7 separate regions of the Homo sapiens genome follow, and all the other regions are linked to region 2. Evidence: promoter capture Hi-C in 16 types of primary human blood cells and fetal thymus (Javierre and others, 2016). All regions are on one chromosome and are shown on one strand. Each heading gives the region's core, a stretch centred on a gene start or on the middle of the fragment in contact. The rest is flanking DNA. Distances are from core to core; before and after follow the strand shown. Region 1 has its middle 200 kb from the start of KCNQ5. Region 2 holds the start of KHDC1 (KH domain containing 1). Region 3 has its middle 160 kb from the start of KCNQ5. Region 4 has its middle 220 kb from the start of KCNQ5. Region 5 overlaps RIMS1 (regulating synaptic membrane exocytosis 1). Region 6 has its middle 180 kb from the start of KCNQ5. Region 7 overlaps RIMS1 (regulating synaptic membrane exocytosis 1).

Region 1 (3,401 bases), core at 136-2,635, 840 kb before region 2:
GCTCGTGATTCTGACAACTGGAAAATTCAAGATCAGGCAGCTGCATCTGGTGAGGGCCCCATGCTGCTTAAACTCATGGCAGAAAGTGGAAGGGGAGCTGGCATGTGCAAAGAGATGACATGGTGGGAGGAAGGAAAAGATTGGAACTGAGGAAGCCAGACTCTTTTTAACAACCTGCTGTCAGGAAATAATCCATTCCTGCAAGAGGAAGAACTCACTTGCCCCCACAGGAGGCCATTAATCTACTCATAAGAGATCTGCCCAATAACCCAAATACCTCCCACTAGGCCCCACCTCCCAACACTTCCACATTGGAGATCAAATTTCAGCATGATCTTTGGCAGAGACAAACCAAATCATAGCAAGACTGGACTCGGGTTTTTAAAAACTTATAGAAATTTTCGAACATACGAAAATAGAATAGTATAATGAACTTCCATGTCCTTATCACCCAGCACACTACCCTGATATTCTACATATTAAAAATTTGGAGCACAAGTATACTTGACTATTTTAATACCTAAATGTGATGACTTCATTTTGATGTTTAATCACTGGCAGCTTTCAGGCCCCACGCTTCTTCCTTCCCCTTTTACCTCACCCGGAAGCCAATAAGAAAGCCTAGGATTCTCCCTCATGTGATTGTACAAATTCCATAGGTTTTCTGGTCTCTTTTAGATGACATAAACAGTCTTATTTTTAGTGTTCTGTGGGTGCCCTGTTAGGGAAGGATCAATTCCCCACTCAATATCATTTTGGGTATCAGGACTGATGGTGTTATACATGCACCCAGAGGGTATGAATATTACTCATATAATGAAACTCTAGGGAGAATATGGCAGGTATTCAAGCTCTTCTGGAATGGCTTGAGTCAAGAGAAGAGCAAGTACTTTGGATTTTTATTATAGTTAGGGGATGGAGCCTGGGTGAGTTTCACATAGCTCAGGGATTACCTCCTCTACCCACAGGCATCACCTCAGGGTATCCATGCTTCTTGTGCCTACACCTTCTCCTGGCTGGCTGAGTGTTCTGGAAGTCTAAGCGCAGAGAGATAAAAGTTTCTGCAGAGAGCAGTTTCTTCCAGCAGAACAGTGCTGTGCCAGAACACTGAGGCCAGCAGTGGCATGGCACTTTTCCCAGGATCAGCTCTCACTGGGAACACTGAATATATATTATAAATTATACCTTTTCATAGATGAATTTCTAGGAAAATTTTATTCCCTATTTTCATGAGTTGTTCCTCCCTAACGATAGATGTTAAAGGCTCTAATTGTCCCACTGGAGAATTAATTCAGCAAATTATCCAGCACCAATGTCAGAGGTGTAGCTCTCCCTTCTGGATATTCAGTTGGATAAACTCATTGCTTTCAACTTGAAAACTTTGGAATCAGCTCACAACCTGAGAAACTATTCAGGCCTTCCTAGGTTTTTAATGGAATACCATAAAATCTACGAGGGAGAATTGCTTCATTTCTCTAGATTTTTTTTAGGAATGAGCTCAATGAACAAAAAATAGCATAGATTCCAAATCTCTCAACCCTCAAAACAGTTTTCTTCTGGAATTTATCACTTTTTCAACTACTAAGTGAATGCTCCATTGTGGCAGGTTATAAACAGTGTGACATGCTGAAGCCAGTTTATAAGAGCTGTTGGTGTACGTCTCTTCCTGTGAGGCTTACATAGAACATTTATAGTTATATCAGGTTATTTTTATGGTTATAACAGATTATTTTAAGCTAATAACAATTATGATCACATACAAAACCTTTACATTTTTGCTCCCCCTGCATATTTTATGTTTTTATGTCGTAATTCACATCTTTTTATATTGTTCCCCTAACAAATTATTGTGGTTATGATTACTTTTAATAGCTTTGTCTTTTGACTTTTATGTTAGAAATATGTGACTTACACACTACCGTTACAGTATTAGAGCATTCTGATTTTGACCATATATTTACCTTTACCATTGGGTTTTTAAATTTCATATGTCTTCATGTTGTTAATTAGCATGCTTTCATTCCAACATGAAGAACCTTTATCATTTCTTGTAAGGTATGTCCAGTGGTAATGACCTCCCCAACATTTGTCTGCCTGGGCATGTCTTTAGCTCTTCATTTCTGAGTACAGCTTTGCCAGGCATAGTCTTGTTGGTTGGCATTACTTTTTTTCTGCCCTTTGAACATATCATCCCTACTCTCTCCTGGCTAGCAAGGTTTCTGTTGAAAAATTTCTGATAGGCTTATAAGGGTTTCCTTACATGTGACAAGTCTCTTGTCTATTGCTGTTTTCAAGAGTCTCTCTTTGTCTTTGACTTGTGACTAATTGATTATAATGTGCCTTGGAGTATTCCTTCTTTGTATTGATCTTGCTTGGGCTTCCTTAATCTTTCATTAATCTTGTGTTGATCTTTTAGGCTTCGTTAATCTGAATATCCATATCCCTCCCAACTCACATTAATAGCATGAAATCACCCATGGTGTGATTACTTACACCACAGAAACTGGCAAATGTTATAAATCAGGGATTTTTATTCCAAAAAATAGTTGTTAAAAACTTACCAGCACATCATGAGTTAAGGTAGAATGAGAAAAAAATAAGTAAACAAAACAAATGAAACTCTGAAAATTTTATCTAAATACGGCGAAAAGGTATAATTTGTAAAGAGGAATGACTTGATTCTCATTTCTCTTTGCGTAGCTCTCACTTATCTCCTTGCTCTTCCCATATATAAGAACAAACTTATGCACTGCAGTTTATCATCATAATTCCAGGTTTGATGCATTATATGAGGCAATATAGCATCTGATTTAAGAGCTTGGGCTCTGGATACAGAATTCTGGCTCTGCCACTTTCTAATTATTTTACCATGAGTAATTTCATCAAGCTTGAAAATCTCAGTTTTCTTATCAGAAAATGTGCATAAGAATAGCTCTTATTTTGTGGAGTTATCATGAGAAAGAAATAAAATAATTCCTGGCATATGGTGGGCACCCATCAAATATTTGTTATGTAAATGTATGAATGCCTGTAAAAGCATTTTGTCAATGTCTGGCATAAACCAAGTGCTTAATACATGTTAAATAACATAAAATTAATTTTGATAGCCTAGAATTACCATCAGTATTAGTTTATTTACTTCTTTAAACCTTTCCACATATATACCAGTCTCTCAAAGTGGTATAAGTCAGGATCTGTTTTTTGAAAATGTAACTAGTTACTCTCAGATGAAATAATACACATTTGTTTCTTCTCAAACAAAAGTCCATTCACTGCTCAAACAAGCTGGAGGAGAAGAAACTAGCTTGAGGATGGCAGACAAAAGTCGGTGTATCCACATGTGACAGCTTGCAGATTGTGGGCATGCTATGACATATTCCCAAATAATATTCATCAGCCAT
Region 2 (3,108 bases), core at 90-2,589:
AGCCAAGATCGCACCACTGCACTCCAGCCTGGGTGACAGAGCAAGACTCCATCTCAAAAAAAAAAAAAAAAGCCTAGCTGGGCAAGGTGGTATGTGCCTGCGGTCTCAGCTACTCAGGAGGCTGAGGTGAGAGAATTCATTGAGCCCGGCAGGTTGGAGCTGCAGTGAGCCATGATGGTGCCACAGCCCTCCAGCCTAGGCAGCAGGAAAGAGGCCCTTCTCAAAAAAAAAAAAGCATAGACTCTAGGGCCAAATTGATGTGCTCAAGCAAAGGTTTTGCCACTTACGGTGTAACCTTGGGCCAGTTGCTTAACCTCTCTTGACCTCACTTGCCTTCTTTGTAAACCAGAGGTGATAATAGTATACCCATTTCATAGGGCTGTGGTGAGAACTAGAGGAGTTAATACATTTAAAGAGCTTAAAAGTGTCTGGTGCATAGCAAGTGCTACGTAAATGTTAAACCTTTCCTGCCCTTTTCCTCTGCTCCTCCTTTCCCTTGTTTCCTGTTACAGCATTCCTTCTTTTTTTCTTACTATTTCCTCACTATGCCTTTGCTTGAATACTAAAAAGAAACTACTGGTCCAACAGCAGGCAACACCTCATGCGATTACTTTAAATGACTTCAAAATAATACAAACATATCCAGCACAATAGTTTACATTTTAAAGGTGTTACACCCATTTTGTTTTGAGATGTGTCAACAAAACCCGTGTTTCTTTTCTTTCTATAAGTTTAAAATGTCCCCAAATCAATTAACAATAGAGGAAAGTCACACGATCTGTTTTAATTTTTCTCTTTATACTGCTATCTCCTGTTTCCCCTGTTTTTACACTTCTTTGCAGCTCACTTTCCTTATCTGTAAGATATTCTTAGGATGAACTTAGTAAGAAATGTGCAAGATCTAGATGAAGACCCACCAGATAGGATGCTCTCTTGCAGACACGCAACTCACTGACTCAACCAATGAGGAAATTATCCCACAAAGCAGATAATCCTAATGGAGGGCAGAATTCAGGACTGAGCATCTCAGTGATGCCGCCGGGAACCCAGGCTTCTCTGTCCCTTCACCGGACTAACCGAGTTCGAGACCACAGGGGGGTCAGGTAGCCAAGGCTGGGCTTTGACGGTAGGAATGAAGGAGGTGAGGGTGGCGCGCCGCAGGCCTGGGCCACTCCCTGAGTAGGGCGGCGGCGGCGGCGGCGGCGGCGGCGGCAGCGGCGGCAGCGGCTGCAGGCCTGGCCGATTGTGAGGAGACAGCGGTACCTCCTGGGCCGCGCACCCGACCCTTCCAGGGGTCCCGGCTCGCGCCGCGGCCGCGCGAGGCGCGCTCGAGCGGAAGTGGCGGCGACCCCGCCGGAAGCGCGCGGCTGCGGCGCGGGAAGCAACCCAGAGCCCTCCTCCCGCCTGCTCTGTGTAGGAGACAGCCTGCGGAGCCCACTGCCGGCGCGCAGAGAGCCCAGCAGCTCTTGAGTCCAGGAAGCAAGGGTGGGAGGAGGGACGAGCCAGTGGCAATGACCCAGACCCGGACGACCCCCATTGCTGAGCCAGCGGAGCTGCTTGGTGAGTGGCCTCCAGGCGGCATCTCTTGCTCTCAGCCCGGAGGGGGTTTTGGGGACCCAGGCTGTGGGGCTGCCTCTTCCCATGCCTTCAGTTCACCCCGATATGGGGTGAAAAACCCTAGAGACCCTCGGGTGTCGGTCCACCAAGGGAGGTCCAGACTCCCCAGGAATGTTGCCTGGGGAGGGGTGTCGCGGTGGGGGGGGGGGTGACCCAGGCCCACCCTCTGCAGGGCACTTAAAATGCTCCACATCCCCAGTGGATGCCTCCTGTCACGCATCACACCGTGGTGTATTTGAGATCCCATCTGCCACTTGGGCTGGAGGGAAATGAATGTTTTTGGGTTTCTTGTCATTGCTTCCTGCGGATTCCATTTTACTCCTGTTCGTTTATGGCCTCAAACATGAATTTGAAGAATTTTGCCCTCCCTGGCAGTATTGGGAAGAAGATTCTTTTGTTCAAGTCCGTTTGGACAATTAGATGGGAGTATTAACAAAAGGTCGGGCTGGGCACAGTGGCTCACACCTGTAATCCCAACACTTTGGGAGGCCAAAGAGCAAGGATCGCTTGAGCCCAGGAGTTCGAAACCAGCTGGGGCAACAGAGGGAGAACTTGTCTCTACAAAAAATTTAAAAATCAGCTGGGCATGGTGGTGCACGCCTGTAGCCCAAGCTATATGGGAAGCTGAGGTGGGAGGATTGCTTGAGCCCGAGAGTTTGAGGCTGCTGTGAGCTGAGATCACGCCACTGCATTCCAGCCTGGGCAACAAAGCAAGACCCTGTCTGAGGTCAACTCTGCCCCCAGGAAGGTATGGGACCTTGCAATCTTATCTAGGTTGCGTCTTTTTCATTGAAATCACGAAATCATTAAGGTAAGTAGGGAAGGGTCAAGATAGCTAAGATGAGTGAGGGGACACAGACACCAATAAAAGTTCTAACTTTGAGGACTCCTCCAGTATTCTTTTCATCCTAAAGCTTCTGGCCTATCAGCTAGTTCAGACACAGCCTAGGAGTCTCAAGCCAGTACAGGAACAAGGAGGCAGGTTGCCCTCTTGGGGCAAAGCTGTGGCCCCACCCTTGATGAAGAACGCCTGTAGGAACCCAGGACCTGTGAGCAGGTAGAGTCCTGAAGGTTTAAGATTCTGTGGAGCAGGTATGTGCAGTGCCAGTGCGCAACCAGCAACTGATGGACAGGAATAGGTAGAGCTGCTCTGAGTGCATTCCTTTGGCAAGCCTGGGCCAGAGGCACACAGGAAGGAATTAGTCATGTGGTATCATAGGCCAGGTGTGGAAGCAAATGAGCCAGAGTGGAACCAGGACCAGCCAGGGCCAAGGCAGGGAGAAGAGTTCCTCTAGCTGACATTGACAGGAAAGCAGAGTCAAAAACCTGGAATGGTTTGCTTCAAAGACTGGATGCTGCCTAATGACCTCGAAGGCCAGTGATACCTGGACTCTTGAGTGAGCAAGGCAGATTTTGGAATGAGCACACAACTTCAAGTAAGCCCGGAGATGATTACCTGTAGTTTCTGCTGCTCTTAGAGGCAGAATCATC
Region 3 (3,101 bases), core at 430-2,929, 800 kb before region 2:
AGGTATATGGTTGCCTTTCTTTTCTGACAAGAAAGCCTGGTTCTTGGTACTCATCATGATGTAAAGAGGGTATACTCCTTGTAACTGTGCTGCAGTAGCTCCAGTGTAGTTCATCCTTTGAGTTCTAAGGCTATATTTCATATGCCTTCTCATGAGATTTTTCTAGAAGTCTTAGTTCAAAATGAATTGCCTACACGTCAGCATTCCCCAGCCACATTGAGTAACCACAAAGCCAGTTCCAGCTGTGCATCCTAACATTCTTGCAGCAGCCTCACTCTCCCCTCCACAACACACATCTTGCTTTGAGGTTGTTTTCCTCAGCTAAGCACAAAGTGCAAACATTTGCAACAAGCCTGCCAAGGCAGAAAAGAACTGAAATTGATGCTACCTCACTTAGTTTCTCTTTCTGATCCATATCATATTCTGCTGTCAGAGTAATCTCTCTTGAGTACCAGGCAGTTTTATTGATTTCCATTTTTCTACCATAGAAAATGAACGCATCACCTTCCTTCCAGGCCTCCTTTATCTGGTTTTTCCTTGACATTAAACCTTGCCTTCACTTCTCTAGCCAGGCTGGACTACTCCCTAACACAGTTTTAAGTCCCCTTTTCACATGTTTTGCCTTACTTGCTTAATTTTTCAATAAATATTTCTAAAGCACCTACTACGTACCAGGTATAAAGCATGGCACTTGTCAAGAATGACTTCCTCTCTCAGTCTGTCATTTCTCACCCAAATTTCAAATTTCCTATCCAGTGCATTCTGTCCATTAACATGGTGTAGACTTTTCCAGCACTCATTATTCTTTGTTAATTTAATTCTGTCTCCTTAATGATGTAGAAGTTGCTTATAGGCTTTAGACCTCTGTATACTTTGCCGCACTGAGTAGATGCTAAGCTAGCCAAAAATAGTTACTAGTAGAGGAACATCAATGAAATCCTAAATCTTATTAGAACTGCAGTCCAACTAAGGTCTCCAACCTTTACTTAGAAAGTGAAGAGAAATTGTTAGGAAACTGATGAATAATTGTCGCCATCTGTGCAGATGTAAGTGAGGAACATGGAGTCACTTTTGCTCTTTAAAAACGTATGGTGTTGATATGTGTCTGAGGACAGCGGGGGTAGGATGCATGCAGAGGAAAGGAATGTACTTTTATCTTACACAACCTGGTCCAAATCCCTTGGTTTTCTACCTTAGTATCCTCCTATTAGTACAAAACTTTTTTGACATATTGTGTTCCCATTTTTTCTGCATTTTCTAGGCATAATTTTGAGTGTTCTTTCTGTTAAAGCATAGAATTAACCCAGCTCTCTGACCCTTGCCTTATGCTTTGAGATGGTGCTTTCCTAGCACTATACTCATAGTGTTTTCTTCATTTATTCTGCAGTATCTCTAGCTGTTTCCAACATATTATCATACTGTAAATACTTTGGTGCACTCATTTAATCAAAAGCCCACTTTATTCATTTTACTTTGTAATTCAATTCCCAGTGCGTCTTTTTCAGCACAATTGTTATGAATTTTCAATTTATTTTCATGTCTATTTTTATAGCTGCCACTTCTACAGTGTGGCAAGCTTTTTTTCCTTAACTTTAAAAACATCATTTCTGAAAGAAAGCTGTTCTGAAATCTGGCTTTTTCAGCAAACTGAACACCCACATGATGAAGATAGAATGGTGGAAGTTAGAGGTGGAAAAGATGCGTAAGGTCATCTTGCCTATTTTTTTAAGCAAATAGAAATATGTATGTACAATAATGTTGAGTTTACATAATTTCCCATTTCAAGCTTAGAAAATCTTGTTGACCCCCCGCCCCCACTCCATTATATGTTCTCTTATCTATGGGTTTTGCTAGAGCCTTATGAGCTTTGATAATAGTTCACATTTTCTTTGAAATCAATTTGCTTTGTACTGTAGAATGTGAGTCTGATTGATTCCAAATTAATTTTTGTCTTTTAAAGAATAATAATAACTTGCTTTTACCTACCTTTCTTCTTTCCTGTTTATAGGAGTAGTATTCTCCTTATCTATTGCTTTCTAACAAACCAACTCAAAACCTTAATAATTAAAATAACCTCAGTCATGTGTTATTATTTCTCATTGTTTGGCAGGGAAATGGGGCTTGTCTAGGCAATTCTTGTCCAGGGTCACAGGAGCAGCTGCACTCAGATGATAGTGGCTGCTAGAGTTATTTTACATGATTTTTCACACACACAGCTGTTTGATGGCACCTCAGCTGGAGTTTCCAGCTAGAACACCTGTCAGTGGCATCTCTAGGTGTCCTGGGCTTCCCTTGCAGCATAGTGACTGGATCCCAAAGGCAAGCATCCCAAAATAGAGGTGAAATCAGTATCGCCCTGTGTGACCCTAGCCTCCAAAGTTATACATCATTTTTACCCAGGAGTCACAAAGGACCACCCAAGTGTAGGCAGGGCAGGGACAGCGGTCGAGGGTGAGGAGTAGAGGAGGTAGGAAAATAGACTCTACCTCTGGATGAGGGGAGTGGTAAGGTCACATCGTAAACCATGGGATGAGAGATATTGCTACTCCCAACTTTGGAAAATACAATCTTCCACAGTGGTTACATAATCAACTACTTATTATTTGCAGTGGATAGAGAAAGATTTCAATTTAGATACCAGTTTCAACCTCTTTTCACACCAAACCGTACATAAGTGCCACAAATAGACTAAGCAACATGCACAGCTTTTCACTTTACTCATTTTGTCTTAATGCTTCCTGATCATTCCCTTTACATCAGATACAATCAATGAAAATGAAGAGGAGAAAAAGACTTGCTAATTCATAATCTGTGTACAATGGGCTCTAAACATATCCTTCAACAAGTCTGGGCTGTTTCTCTGCTAGCTATGTGAACCTAAGTGTCAGTTGACTTCCCTGGACTTCAGTGTGGTTAAATTATCCCAAAGTTCTCTTTAAGCTCTTATGTTCTAGAATTCTGACTTATATTTGCAGGTCTAAAATTCTATTTCCATGTGCTAAATAAAGATCATTAACAGTACCACCAGATAATTATTCTAATGAATGTGCATATGTTTATTTTTCTATTTTGAACCCCATGGAAAACCATGAAATCAATTC
Region 4 (3,205 bases), core at 284-2,783, 860 kb before region 2:
ATTACCCCACCTGCTGCTCATTAATAACCCCAGTCTAGGTTGTCAGACCCAATAAAACAGGGGTCTCCAATCCCTGGGCCACGGACTGGTACTGGTCTGTGGCCTGTTAGGAACTGGGCCACACAGCCAGAGGTGAGCCAGGCAAGTGAGCTCTGCCTCCTGTCAGTTGGCAGCAGCAATAGATTCTCATAGGTGTGTGAACCCTGTTATGAACTGTACATGGGAGGGGTCTAGGTAGCGTGCTCCTTATGAGATTCTAATGCCTGATGATCTGTCACTGTCTCCCATCACCCCTAGATGGGACCATCTAGTTGCAGGAAAACAAGCTCAGGGCTTCACTGATTCTACATTATGGTGAGTTATATAATTATTTCATTACATATTATAATGTCATAATAGAAATAAAGTGCACAATAAATGTAACGCACTTGAATCATCCTGAAGCCATTCTCCCCCTGGGTCTATGGAAAAAACTGTCTTCCACAAAACCAGCCGCTGGTGCCAAAAAGGTTGGTGACTGCTGCTCTATAGCTCTTACCACAGAACTCCTTTAATTAAAGTATATACCTATCTTATCACATACTTGGTGGTCAATTGGTTTTTGTAAATGTAAATGTATTAGTTGGATTAAAAAAACCCACAATTGTCCCATCATCCCAGCAGAATCTCCTTTGGATCATCTTGATCCATGCCTAATGCTGAACAAATATCTCTGACCAGAAAAATGAAATACCTTGATAGACAGGCTTGTGTCAAGAGTCCAGCCCTGGATCTAGGAAATCCAGGCAGTTGCACCCAAACCACATAGAAAAGTTAGGGTAGTTCTCCCAAGGCAATATGGATGCTACTAGAAAAAAGAGAATGCTTCTGCCTTAGAGAAGGACATGTTGGGAAAGTTGTGTCTGCTCTAGATCCATTTTTTCTCTTCTCTCAAGACCTAGGAAAGGTGGGACAAAAATTCTCAAGATTGGCCACATCCAACCACACTCACTCTGATGACACTCATCTTCTCCTCTCTTCCAAATTATGGAGCCACTCATCTGGTGCCTTAAATATTTCTAAGACTCCAGACTGACATTTTGAGGAATATGGCATTATAATTATATCTATAGCACGCAGGAAGACATACGGCTAACATAAAATACACTAAAACATATCTGTTAAATGGAATAATAATAACACCTACCTCATACAATTATTTTGAGGATTAAAGTAAATAGTAAATATTACATTTTTAGGACAAAACCTGAATTCATAGTAAGTGGCTTAATAAATGTTAGCACCTATAACCATTATGCATAAACCTAACTTTGTGAAGTCTAAGTTAACCTTGTGAAGACTTCATATGAACACAAAACTCTTGGACAAATCTGGCCTTCATTTCCTGATCATTTATCTGATCCACCACCACTGATACAATGTCCCTTTCCAGTACTGGTAGATAAAAACAGAGGAGGATTTGTCGTCTGTTCAGGTGATAGGAGTGCTAATTTCAATAGCCCATATCACATAATGCTGTCTTCAGGCCATTCTGTGCATCTTTGTCTTCAGGCCATTCTGTGCATCTTCAGTAGGGCTGGTTGTTCCTTCCTTTTCTAGACCAACCTTTGCATTTAGTGAGCACCACCTCTTAGAAGCAGACAGAGAACACCCTCTCTGACCCAGCCCAACAGAACGAGTCTAGCTTTAGAAAATGTGCTTTCTAACCACCATTTTCAGTGCCATTTCCTGGATGATTTCATTAGCAAGCCTCACAATCTTTCTGTTCCAGAAATTCTCAGCCTCTCAAGGTTCTCTAACTGCCTTCTGCAATGCAAGGTTCCCAACCTATTCTCTACCTGCAAATCTGCTCCCATATCACTGAATTCTCCCCAATTTCTCCAGGAGCAGAGGAACTGAGTCGTTTCACTGAAATTACCACCTTTTTCTTTCTCCTTTTCTGTATAGTCAGTCTAGGTTCTCTCTTCAGATGCTGGATCATCTCTTTCATCCTCCTTTGCATGTACTTTAATTCTATCACTCCTTTCCCTATTTATGTCCCGCAACATGCAACTGCGGCTTTTCTGATTATGTGTGTTATCTTATCTATTCATTCCTCTGCATTTTCCAAGTTCTATCAATACATAAAATCATCAGAAACCACACGCCTACATCACTCTAGCTTGTTCCTGCCATCATGTTCACTCCACCCTAAATTCATGTTTTTTCCTAATGTTTTGCCTTTGGTTTTCATTGAGTGTTTATTAAAGATGCTTCTTGCATTGGCTATGCGTTTCTGTCAACTATTTTTTCCAGTATGTCACTGAATACTTTTTGCAAATATTTTTGTATGATTGTTTTACATTTTATTATTTAGTGTCTGCAAAAAGAATTTTTTTCTACTGAGTGGTTGTGTTTTCTTCTACTATAGAGTTCTTTTTTAAGACAAAATATACTATTCTTTATTTTTATCATAGAACAGGCATTTTCAGTCTGTTAAAAAGTATGGAATGGGATCAAGTGTAATTTTAGAGGCTTCTCATGTTTCTTTTTTTATTCCAACTTTTATTACAAGTTAAAGGGTACATGTGCAGGTTTATTACATGGATAAACTGCATGACACTGAGGCTTGAGGTGTCAGCAATCTCATTACCCAGGCTGTAAACATAGCACCCAACAAATGGCTTTTCAGCCCATGGCCCCTCCCTCCCCTCACTAGTGATCTCAGTGTCTATTGTTCCCATCTTTATGTTCATGTGTATTCAGTGTTTAGTTCCCACTTATAAGCGAGAACATGCAGTATTTGGTTTTCTGTTCTTGCCTTAGGTCACTTAGGATAATGGCTTCCAGCTCCATCCATATTGCTGCAAAGAGCATGATTTCATTCTGTTTTATGGCTGCATAGTATTCCATCATGGTGTATATGTACCACATTTTCTTTATCCAATCCACTGCTGTTGGGCACTTAGGTTGATTCCATTGTCCTTGCTATTTTGAATAGTGCTGCAATGAACATATGGGTGGATGTGTCTGTTTTGATAGAATGAATTCTTTTCCCTTGGGTATATACCGAGGAGTGGGATTGCTTCTACCATAGGGCACTTAACTTTTCATATGCTTTGGTTCCCTTTGGTGCCTGGTGATACCTATAGACTCCTTCTCAGAATAATGAAGTTAAACTCCTTTAAAAAGTACATAGGAGGAAAATGAAGCCAATTATATTGAA
Region 5 (3,403 bases), core at 55-2,554, 890 kb before region 2:
CTTTCTAGTAGAGCACTACTTTAAAGTGCTCTACTTAAAAGAGACAACTTTAATTAAGACTTGAAACTTTGTCCATATTTGAATTTTACAGTTTTATGTTTATTTGCATATGTAGTTGAAGTGTGAAGTATACCCTGAAAAGTTGACTAACTTCTCTCCCAAGGACACCAGAAAGGTAGAAGGAATCAGGAATCAGTTGAAGGCCAGAGTTAGGAAGACAGAAATGTAGTTTGTTAGGTCACGTCCTGAAGTGCTGGCCAGCATTCAAGAGGAAGTTAAGAGGCAATGGGCAGGACCCAACCAGTCCCTGTGTAGATAGACGAGCCCCTTAGCCATAGTTCACCTGGTGCCTTTTAAGGGGCAAAGCTTTTGGTAACTTGGAGCTAGAAGCCCTGAATGTGAGTTCTAATTCTGCCATTTACTGGCGATGATCTCAGCAAAATAATTTAACCTCTCTCATCCTTGGTTTCCTCATCCAAAAAACTGAAAATATTTATCAAATAGTGGAATTCTTTATGAATATAATTATTCTACTCTGGGTTGCAGTCTAACCAGGAAACAGTCTAGATCATCTTGGGCTCACAGCAAGTCAGAATGTGGAGTATTAGAATAAAGGCAGCAATCTTAAAGGCTGTTTCAAAACAAGAATCTAAAATACCTGGGCCAAGGATTCTAGGCCTGTGGTTCTAGAAGCCTGTTTGAAATTTCTGGATCAGAATCAGACCTCATAATCTGTGTTGGACAGGCCATAAACATGTGTTGGTGAGAATCATGAATTTTCATGTCAATATTATATTGTGTGTGGTTTCTTGAAAGGAAAATAAAAGGTAAAAGTATCTCATTCAACAATTGAGATTGAAGATATATATTTCCATGGCATTTAACCTTTACAAAATTACCCATCATTTCTCATCAAAATTGTTAATGTACTCCTGAGATAATTATTTTTGCCATGCTTTCTAGGGTTCCATCTTTTTAATGTTTTAAAGATTTTTTTATGTGTTTAACTTAGCAAATGGTAGGTGAAACATTAAAATCTACAAAAATGCTCTTTTTTCCTGAGATTGATTTAGAACTTGACTGCTTATTTTCTTTCCAAAAAATGTGAACTTATTGTACAGAGAAATACAGCCAAAATCAATTTACCAAGAATTTAGAGTAAACAGGGACATACAGTACTTTTCTCCCTTTTGTACCTTTGTAGGGGCAATTTGAAGGAGCATACTTAAGAATTAGGTTTGCAAACAAAATCTCCCTGTTTCTAAGAACATCGGAAAGAACTAAAAGTGGTTTCTCTGGACTGTGTCTAATCTTCAGCGATTGGTTTGCTATTCATTGTTGGGAAACTATATATGGCTGCCGCCAGGTTGCATGACCTGTTACATAACAATTTATTGAAGCAGGGAGATGCTAAAGTCACTGGAGGTTGGACTTGGCCTGTTAAGAGTGTGAACAAATGGAGTGTAACAATGTGTGTGATTTCTGAAACAAACAATCCTGGGAATAAAGGACACAGTCCACTGCTTTCATAATAAGACAATTCTTTTTTAAACAAAATTAAAATTAAAGTTTTATCTACAGTAAAGGTCAAAGACTTAGAAGTGGAAAAATTAAGGCTCTAATTTTCATTGTGTTGGTAAGGAGCTAAGTAACCACAGGCTAAGGGTTTAACCTTACTGCACCTTGGATTCTTTGATCAGACTTTGGATTCCGTCATTTATTTTTAAGGTTTCAATGCTAAGTTTCTGATCTGTTCTATTCTAAAATGGATCAATTTAACCCACCGATAATTTGAATTTCAGGGTTTTCAGCTCAGTGCTTATTTTTAGTACTGCTTTAGTATTGCATAAGCCAGTATTTAATATTCTTATAAATATACTCCTGCTCTAATGAAAAAGTATCAGGTTTGTTTTTACCTTGTGAATTACAGTGTTTTCCTTCTCAGGAAGAGTTATCAATTCCACATTCATGGCCATGTTCATTCATTCCCACTTATTGAAGTGTGGCTGAACCAGAATCAAACATTTTTGTGTGTGATTAACACTGAACACACCTCCTACTCCTCAAATTATCAGGATTGTCATTGTTTATAGTCAATTTAGGACAATGCCTTGAGAGTAATAAGCAAACTGGAAAGAAGAGAGGCAGAAAGTAATTGATTCTGCTAAGGATGTCAAATTAAATTAGAGTCAGTAATACGTTATCATTCTTATCTCACATTTTGTTAACATTTTCATTCATTAAAGCTTAGACATCTGCTTAGGCACATTTTTTTTTCTCCCACAGAATCATTAAATACTGTACTTGAAGTAATTTAGTCAATTCCTTAAGATACAGTAATGCAGTTCTGAAGATTGGTAAACCTTAATCCACCAGATTTTTTCTTCACCAGTATACTTTTTATTGTATTGCATATTTCAAGTTCATGTTCATCTAATTTTTAAAAGATGAGTAGTGAGATGAAAACTAAAGACCTAATTTTATTATTTATTTTTTATTTTTATTTTTTTGAGTTGAAGTCTCACTCTGTCACCAGGCTGGAGTGCAGTGGCGGGATCTTGGCTCACTGCAACCTCTGCCTCCCAGGTTCAAGTGATTCTTCTGCCTCAGCCTCCCAAGTAGCTGTGACTACAAGTACGCACCACCACACCCAGCTAATTTTTGTATTTTTAGTAGACATGGGGTTTCAGCGTGTTGGCCAGGATGGTCTCGATCTCTTGACCTCGTGATCCGCCCGCCTCGGCCTCCCATAGTGCTGGGATTACAGGCGTGAGCCACTGCGCCTGGCCCTAAAGACCTAATGTTTTTAATACTTCATTGTACCAATTCTCACCACCAAACCATTTCTTTTTATGTCCTAAGAGTTTTCTTTTGGTCTTCAGATACGCAACTATGTTTTGTTATTTAGTACCTATTCTAACCACAGTCAGTGGAAAAGCAACCAGTCAGCAGTTTCCCAAAACCCTTAGGGCACACAGGCTCTAATTAAGTTTTTATGCATAAGTTATATTCTTCCCAGTCATGGAATGATTCTTCATTGGTGTCACACAACCTGCCCTCAAATTACTACCAAGGCCTGTGTGGCCAGGCCTCAAATTAGCACAATTTACATTATTTGCCTATTTTCTCTCTTGTCATATCCATACTTTGAGCTAGAGTAGATCTCAGTGCCAGTCTGAAATGAAGTGGTCAGAGTATTTTGCGTTAAAACAGCAGTCAGCAACCTTTTTGGCACAAAACCAGGGACCAGTTTTGTGGAAGACAATTTTTCCATGGACCAGGGGGTAAAGGGGGAGGATGATTTCAGGATGATTAAAGTGCATTACTTTTATTATGCCCTTTATTTCTATTATTATTACATTGCAATATATAATGAAATAATTATACAACTCACCATAATGTA
Region 6 (3,354 bases), core at 52-2,551, 820 kb before region 2:
CTCTCCTGCTGTCCTGTTGGCATTTTCAATACTAATAGATAGTTTAAAAGTTTACAGAAAACAAATATATATTCTGAAAAAATGCATGGATTTTAAATTTTTTGCACCAAAATATACTTGTACTAACTTTTTATAACATGCCTCAACAGCATCTAATTTGAGCCACTAAGAAGGATAAGATATGAGTTTCAAGAGAGCCCCAATCAGAGCAACATGAACTCTGCTAAAATTAAAGCAAGAATGAACATCAATTTATGGTAAAACTTGCGTGGAAGAATGATGAAATAAATAATGCTTTATGAAAGTTTATGGGGAAAATGTCCCAAATAAATCAGCAGTTTACAAGTGAATAACTCATTTCAAGAGGGAATGAGATATTGTTGAAGATGAAGCTCACAGTGCCATACCATCCACACATACTTGCAAGGAAACACTCATCTTGTTTGTGTCCCAATTGAAAAGGACCAGCAATTAACAGCAGAAACAGTAGCCCAACACCATAGGCATCTTAACTTATTCAGCTTACACAGCTGTGAACTAAAAATTAAAGCAGAGCAAACTTTCCACTTGGTAAGTGCCAAAAATGTTGTGCCCACTTGAGCTACAGACAAGATCAGAGTTTTCAATTGAAATTTTAAACAAGTAGGATCAAGATCCTGAAGCATTTCTTTGAAGAATTGTAACAGGAGATAGACAAGGCTTTACTAGTATGATCCCAAAGACAAGCACAATCAAAGCAATGGCTACCAAGAGGTGGAAGAGGTCCAGTCAAAGCAAAAGTGGATTAATCAAGAACAAAGATCACGGCAGTTTTGGGGATGCTCAAGGCATTTTGTGTGTTGACTTTCCAGGAGCAGGGGGTGGGACGCAAAAACAATAACATCTGCTTATTATGAGTGTGTTTGAAGGAAGTTAGCCAAAGTTTTAGAAGAAAAACACCTGGGAAAGCTTCACCAGAGAGTCTGCCTCCTCCATGACAATGCTCTTGCTCATTCCTTTCATCAAACAAGGGCAATTTTGTGAAAGTTTTGATGGAAAATCGTTAGGCTTTCACCTTACAGTCTTGATTTAAATTCTGCTAACTTCTTTTGTTTCCTAATATTTAACTAATCTTTAAAGGGCACCATTTTTCTTCAGTTACTAATGTAAAAAAAGATGGCATTGACATGGCTACATTCCCAACTCTCATTTCTTTAAGGATGGACTAAATGACTGGTATCATAGCTTTCAGAAGTGTCCCGAACTTGATGGGGCTTATGTTGAAAAATAAAGTTGGCAATTTTTGTCTTTTAATTCCATTTTTCCATGTATTTTTTGAAGTCCCCCCGTATTTGGGTTGGTCCTTGTAAGAAGTAGTGAGCCATTTTCTCTCATCTTCCTCACTGCTGAACATCTCAGGTCACACGTGATTTTGTCAAGTGCCTTTCTTCCATGGCCCTGAGGTTTGCAGTGAGTAACTCCCCAGTAAGTGACGTTTGTATTCTCCCATCCTTAACCCCTAACTCACCTCTGTGCTTGCCCATTTTCCCCATCACACAACCCCTGCCTAAAAGAAATCTGTGAATTTTCCCCATGAGGAAACTAATGAAGTCCTAACCCCAAATGAAGAGTGGGTTCCTTCCTTCCTCCAAACAAGTTATATAAAATGCTTCTCTAAGCTTCACCAGTAGGCTATACTTCTGGTTTTTTTGTCTGTTTGTTTTTTGCTTTTTTTTTCAGAAGATATATTATTCTGCTAAGAATCCTAGTGGAATCATCAAAGGTCACTACTACTAAGAAGAGCATTTTGACAAAAGACCCTTCCTCAAGGACCTCTGTGCTTTCTGACAGAGTGAAAATTTAAAAAAAAAAAATCTCTGAAAAGGAGAAAATCAAATGAAAGTCATTCCAAAAGAGCACCATATGGCCCACAAGATGTGTGGGTATGGAAGACTCATGCAATGAGGGAAACACACAGATTCTGGAAATCAAAAATGAGCCCCCCCACCCCCCACAAAGTAGGTCATCCCTCATAGCCAAATTCTGAGACCAAATTTCTCATCGCATACTTCTAATTTAGTTTACCTCTGTTGGCATAAGTATGTTCATTTAAAAGTGAATTTCATTCTCACCTCAGCATGGCTCATATTTGTGGTATAGCTAAATGGCTTCATCTTGAGGGTGATGTTGTGCAGCATATGTTACTAAAGTATAGCATCATCTTCTGATTTGAAAAAAAAGAAATGTACATTTGAACTCACTTTGGAAGCATATGTATACAAAATTGTTCTCCTTTACAATAGCTAGCATTGTCATAAAAATTGAAAGTAGGTTCAGAATTAGTAAAGAACTCTCATGGCTTCCTTCAGGACAGGGTTTCTCAACCTTGGTACTATTGACATTTGGGGCTAGATAATTTTTAATAGATTTCACTTTTTAGAGAAGTATAAAATTCGAGCAGAAGGTACAGAGGAGTCTCTTCTACCACTGTACCCAATAATTCCAATAATTTTTTTGTAGGGAGATGTCTTGTGCATTTTAAGATGTTCAGCAGCATCCCTGGCCTCTTCCACTAGATGCCAATAGCATCTTGCTGTTGTGAGGACCAAAAGTATCACCAGACATTGTCAAATGTCTCCTGGTTAAAATCACCAGGCAAAATCACCACTAGTTAAACATTATTCTTTCAGAGCTGGGCCTTACCCCTACAGGAAAGATAGAAGGTAGATTCTGTCTTTGAATTTATTAAGGAGCATCATTTTTTAACCCGACTCTATAAAATAGTACAACATGGGTAGATGTTTTATGAGTATTGATTTCTTCAGATAAAGCCACTACAAATTCATTATAAGCATTTGAGGAAGATGAGACAGTTGGAAGTGGGGTAGAAAAGATGTCAGCAGGAGGCCAGGAATGCTCCATAAGAAAGACACACACAGTGGTAATCCAAGGTCCATCTCCAACCCTGCATGTTCACAAGCTCAATATAGCTCAAGAATTATTAGCTAATTGATCAGACTTGGAGTTTCAATTCACAGGAAAAAAGCTAATGAGACATTATTAAATGGAACAACCATTGATAATTGGTAAATTTGCAATGAAAACGTCATAAAAAGGATCGTAAAAAGGATCAAAATCCATATGAGCTTTACCTGCACAATTTCCTCCAGTAGGTTGAGCTGCATGGAAACTAAATTGTCAGAGAGTATGCTGTAAATATGAAATCAAAACATGGAAAGTAAGACTTGTGATCTGATAGTTTAAAGGGCATCAGGGTTTACTCAGTCTGACATGCTCATCTCCACAGTGAGGCCCTTCCCCCTGCAGCTCTGGGGAAAGTCACATCTGAATTAATATTTCCACAAGTTAATGGGC
Region 7 (2,951 bases), core at 376-2,875, 870 kb before region 2:
TTCTGAGGAGGAAAGGAATAGAAGCAGTGACACTAGCTGTACGGGTATGGCACTGCTCTTTTGAGTGATGATAGTGTCTGGACATAGGGTTGGAGCTGTGGAGAGGAAGAAGAATGACCAGACTTGTGATGCATTTTGAAGGCAAAGCCAAGAGGATTCGCTGATGGATTGGGTGTGGGGTGTGTTAGAGGAATCAAAGATGATTACAAGGATTTAGGCCTTATCACCCAAGTGAATTGTAGTACCATTTACTGTGGGAGGAGGATTTAGTAGTGGGAGGTGGTAGTGTGGTGGAGGTGGGGAAGAGTTCTGTCTTGGATATGTTAATGTTGAAGTGCCTATCAGATCTGTAAATGGAGCTACTAGGCAATTGGATTAATGACTTCAGCATTTATGGGAAAGGTTAAGACCTTGATGTATATTTGGGAGGCACAAGGGCATAGGTGGCTTTGTTAGCTATGTTAAAGCTATGTTAGAGATCACCTAGGAAGTAAGTGTAGAAGAAAGCAAAAGGTCTGAGGCCTGAGGTCTAGGGATTGTCTATTTCTAAAAATCTCAAAGAGGAAAAATCCAGCAGAAGAGACTGGGAAGTAACAACCAATGTCAAAGAAGGAAAAACGGAGAATGTGGATCACAGTAGCCAAGTGAAGAAGCTTGTATAGGTATAAAGAAAAAATAGTTCCCAAATTACTAACCATTGTCTTCCTTGAGTGGTGAAATTATAGGGGGCATTCAATGTTGGCAATTTCTGTAACATTTAAATATTTTGTAATATACATATATTGTCTTTGTAAGCAAAAATAGCAATAAAAAGGTTAAGAACAATAAAAAATAAAAATTTTAATGAACATACTAAATGTGTAGGAAGGATCAGCATTAAGTTCATATAGCATAACCTATTATATCTTTGATTAGACAATTTACAAAAGGAATCCAGTGACCAAAAATGAGAGGGAAAAAATGCAGTGTTTCAAATGGCTTATCTAAGAGTGTATTTAGGTACCTGCTTTGTAAAGGTTTTATGTGGATTGAAAAGTTAATGTGTTTATATAGTAGTTATGTATGTAATTATGTATATAGAGCATTTTTCATATATTATTAATGGGTATTATATGATACTATACAGAAACTAAAGCGAAAACCAGAAATTTATATAGGACGTATAGATGGAATAAAGTCTAACAGTTTTCCTAACCTATTGATACTGCTTATACATGTAAGCAAGTAAATATTTTAGAATTTATTTCCATGCTATGAATAGAATGCTGGTTAGTGCATTTCAAAGTGGCTCAAGAAAATTCCTCTGAGCTTATCAAGAACTGAAATGCAAATGTATGTAATTCCCAGTACAAATGGAGGTGTACACCCCAAACTGCCAGTCAGAACTCATGCAGCTGAGTCAAAAGGCCATGAGGTAGCTGTGTAGTCTTTGAATTAAGATAAAACCTGTTACACCTAACTCCATAATCTATATGGAGTAGAAATAAGTATAAATATTATATAGTGTATGTTAAAGTGCTGCAAAAATCATCAATTAAAATACTAGTTTCTCTTCATGAGGATTGCTGATACGTGACAGTAAAACTGTGGTATTTTTCAAACTGGGTTCCAAATGCACCTTCTCCTTAAAAGAACACGACCTGTCCTTTGGGACTATTCATACACATTTAGTGAATTCCGTATTAGGAGAAACCTATTAGATTGTTCACCATTATCTTTCCACAGAACAGTTGGGTGCCAAATTCAGATTTTCATTGAAGTTGTCACCATCAATAATACAATGATTTCATTTTGGCTGATTGAGATTTAGGCAGTCACTGAAACTGTGGCCATGGCATAGCATCCAGTGGTACTCCCCTTAGCCAAGCATACTTTGGCAAGGAGCCTGAATCAAGCAAAGTACTCCCTTAGGTTACTATTTTTCTGATTAAATTTGTAATTATGTGTAAAATTAACTATTGTATTTGCAGGATCAATTGATATTCAGGAGTAAACTGTCTAAATAAAACTTAGAGTTTCTTTTACTCTCTCCTGTCAGAGTCGGGCCACAAAAAGTTAAAAAGTACCATCCAGAGAAGCACAGAAACAGGCATGGCAGCTGAAATGAGAAAGATGGTAAGGCAGCCGAGCCGAGAGTCTACTGATGGCAGCATCAACAGTTACAGCTCTGAGGGCAAGTAAGTGCTGTCAGCACGTCTGCATGGCTGTGGAACCAGGAATTGTGTACTAATCAGTAAGATAACAAAGCCACTGAGTGTTACTGTGCAGCTTCTCTATTTAATCAGAAGTTCAACCATCCATTTTAAACCACCCTGATGGCTTATAAGTAAGTACACATGGACACACCTCTACACCTGGTCATTCATACCTTTCAAAGGGTGAAGAAATTCTGAGTCCACATGAACAAATTGATTTCTTGCATCTAGGAAAGCCCAGACTAGTTCCTTACTGGATGTTTAGTGTACAAATGCCACAGGTAATGGACTCTTTCATATGGGAAACTCATAGTCTGTCCCTGTCACCAAAGTCCAAGTTAAAATTTATAAGTAAGGAACTGATTTCCCATTTTCTTAATTTTCTCCAAGCTATTTTGGACCCTAAGCTTTTCTAAGTCTAACACTGTCATATATGTAAGTTACATTTTCTTGTTTTTAAAACATTGCTGACTCATTTTTACCTTAGGAAATAATCCAGGGTCTATCAGCTTCATTATTTTTCTGACTAAAATGTTTTAGTTAATTCTGAAAAAATAGAATACGATTTTTAAAAATTTACTCTTTTCGATTCTTTTTCTTTTTTTTTTTTTTTTACCATTTCATATGGATCCTGCACAAAACCTGCTTCTTCCTATGCTTGAGAATATTTCTGGTAAAATTGAATTTTTATTGAGGTAGTGGATCTTACAAATAAGTAATTAATGTGTTGTTTTGGATTACATGGAGATTCACCAC

The links. Contacts are between HindIII fragments. The CHiCAGO score rates a contact against its expected background, and 5 or more counts as called.
Region 1: a contact is called between a fragment that was not itself captured here and the fragment with the promoter of KHDC1 in region 2, in 5 of 17 cell types (naive B cells, naive CD4 T cells, total B cells and 2 more). The highest score is 9.0, in naive B cells.
Region 3: a fragment that was not itself captured here is called in contact with the fragment with the promoter of KHDC1 in region 2 in 2 of 17 cell types (naive B cells and naive CD8 T cells); the score reaches 6.4 in naive B cells.
Region 4: a contact is called between a fragment that was not itself captured here and the fragment with the promoter of KHDC1 in region 2, in 10 of 17 cell types (total B cells, naive CD8 T cells, naive B cells and 7 more). The highest score is 11.5, in total B cells.
Region 5: a contact is called between a fragment that was not itself captured here and the fragment with the promoter of KHDC1 in region 2, in 1 of 17 cell types (naive B cells). The highest score is 5.3, in naive B cells.
Region 6: a contact is called between a fragment that was not itself captured here and the fragment with the promoter of KHDC1 in region 2, in 1 of 17 cell types (naive B cells). The highest score is 7.1, in naive B cells.
Region 7: a fragment that was not itself captured here is called in contact with the fragment with the promoter of KHDC1 in region 2 in 3 of 17 cell types (total B cells, naive B cells and naive CD8 T cells); the score reaches 10.3 in total B cells.

What each region holds. Positions count from the first base shown.
Region 1 is chr6:72,421,369-72,424,769 of GRCh38, forward strand. No RefSeq gene overlaps it. Among named protein-coding and RNA genes, the nearest start is that of KCNQ5, 200 kb to the right of the region's middle. The HindIII fragment of the contact is 3,000 bases long and covers 1-2,885 here.
Region 2 is chr6:73,261,857-73,264,964 of GRCh38, forward strand. KHDC1 (KH domain containing 1) reads right to left here and starts at 1,340. Exons shown (of 4, transcript NM_030568.5): 1 at 918-1,340. The region is part of intron 2 of LOC122539213 (KHDC1-KHDC1L); the gene reads right to left. It also overlaps the pseudogene KHDC1-AS1. RefSeq lists a silencer at 1,184-1,453. The HindIII fragment of the contact is 4,328 bases long and covers 1-2,529 here.
Region 3 is chr6:72,461,057-72,464,157 of GRCh38, forward strand. No RefSeq gene overlaps it. Among named protein-coding and RNA genes, the nearest start is that of KCNQ5, 160 kb to the right of the region's middle. The HindIII fragment of the contact is 210 bases long and covers 1,575-1,784 here.
Region 4 is chr6:72,405,066-72,408,270 of GRCh38, forward strand. No RefSeq gene overlaps it. Among named protein-coding and RNA genes, the nearest start is that of KCNQ5, 220 kb to the right of the region's middle. The HindIII fragment of the contact is 9,392 bases long and covers 1-3,205 here.
Region 5 is chr6:72,371,424-72,374,826 of GRCh38, forward strand. The region is part of intron 29 of RIMS1 (regulating synaptic membrane exocytosis 1); the gene reads left to right. Among named protein-coding and RNA genes, the nearest start is that of KCNQ5, 250 kb to the right of the region's middle. The HindIII fragment of the contact is 1,880 bases long and covers 365-2,244 here.
Region 6 is chr6:72,438,840-72,442,193 of GRCh38, forward strand. No RefSeq gene overlaps it. Among named protein-coding and RNA genes, the nearest start is that of KCNQ5, 180 kb to the right of the region's middle. The HindIII fragment of the contact is 710 bases long and covers 947-1,656 here.
Region 7 is chr6:72,388,560-72,391,510 of GRCh38, forward strand. RIMS1 (regulating synaptic membrane exocytosis 1) reads left to right here. Exons shown (of 34, transcript NM_014989.7): 30 at 2,039-2,177. Among named protein-coding and RNA genes, the nearest start is that of KCNQ5, 230 kb to the right of the region's middle. RefSeq lists a silencer at 2,155-2,355. The HindIII fragment of the contact is 1,949 bases long and covers 652-2,600 here.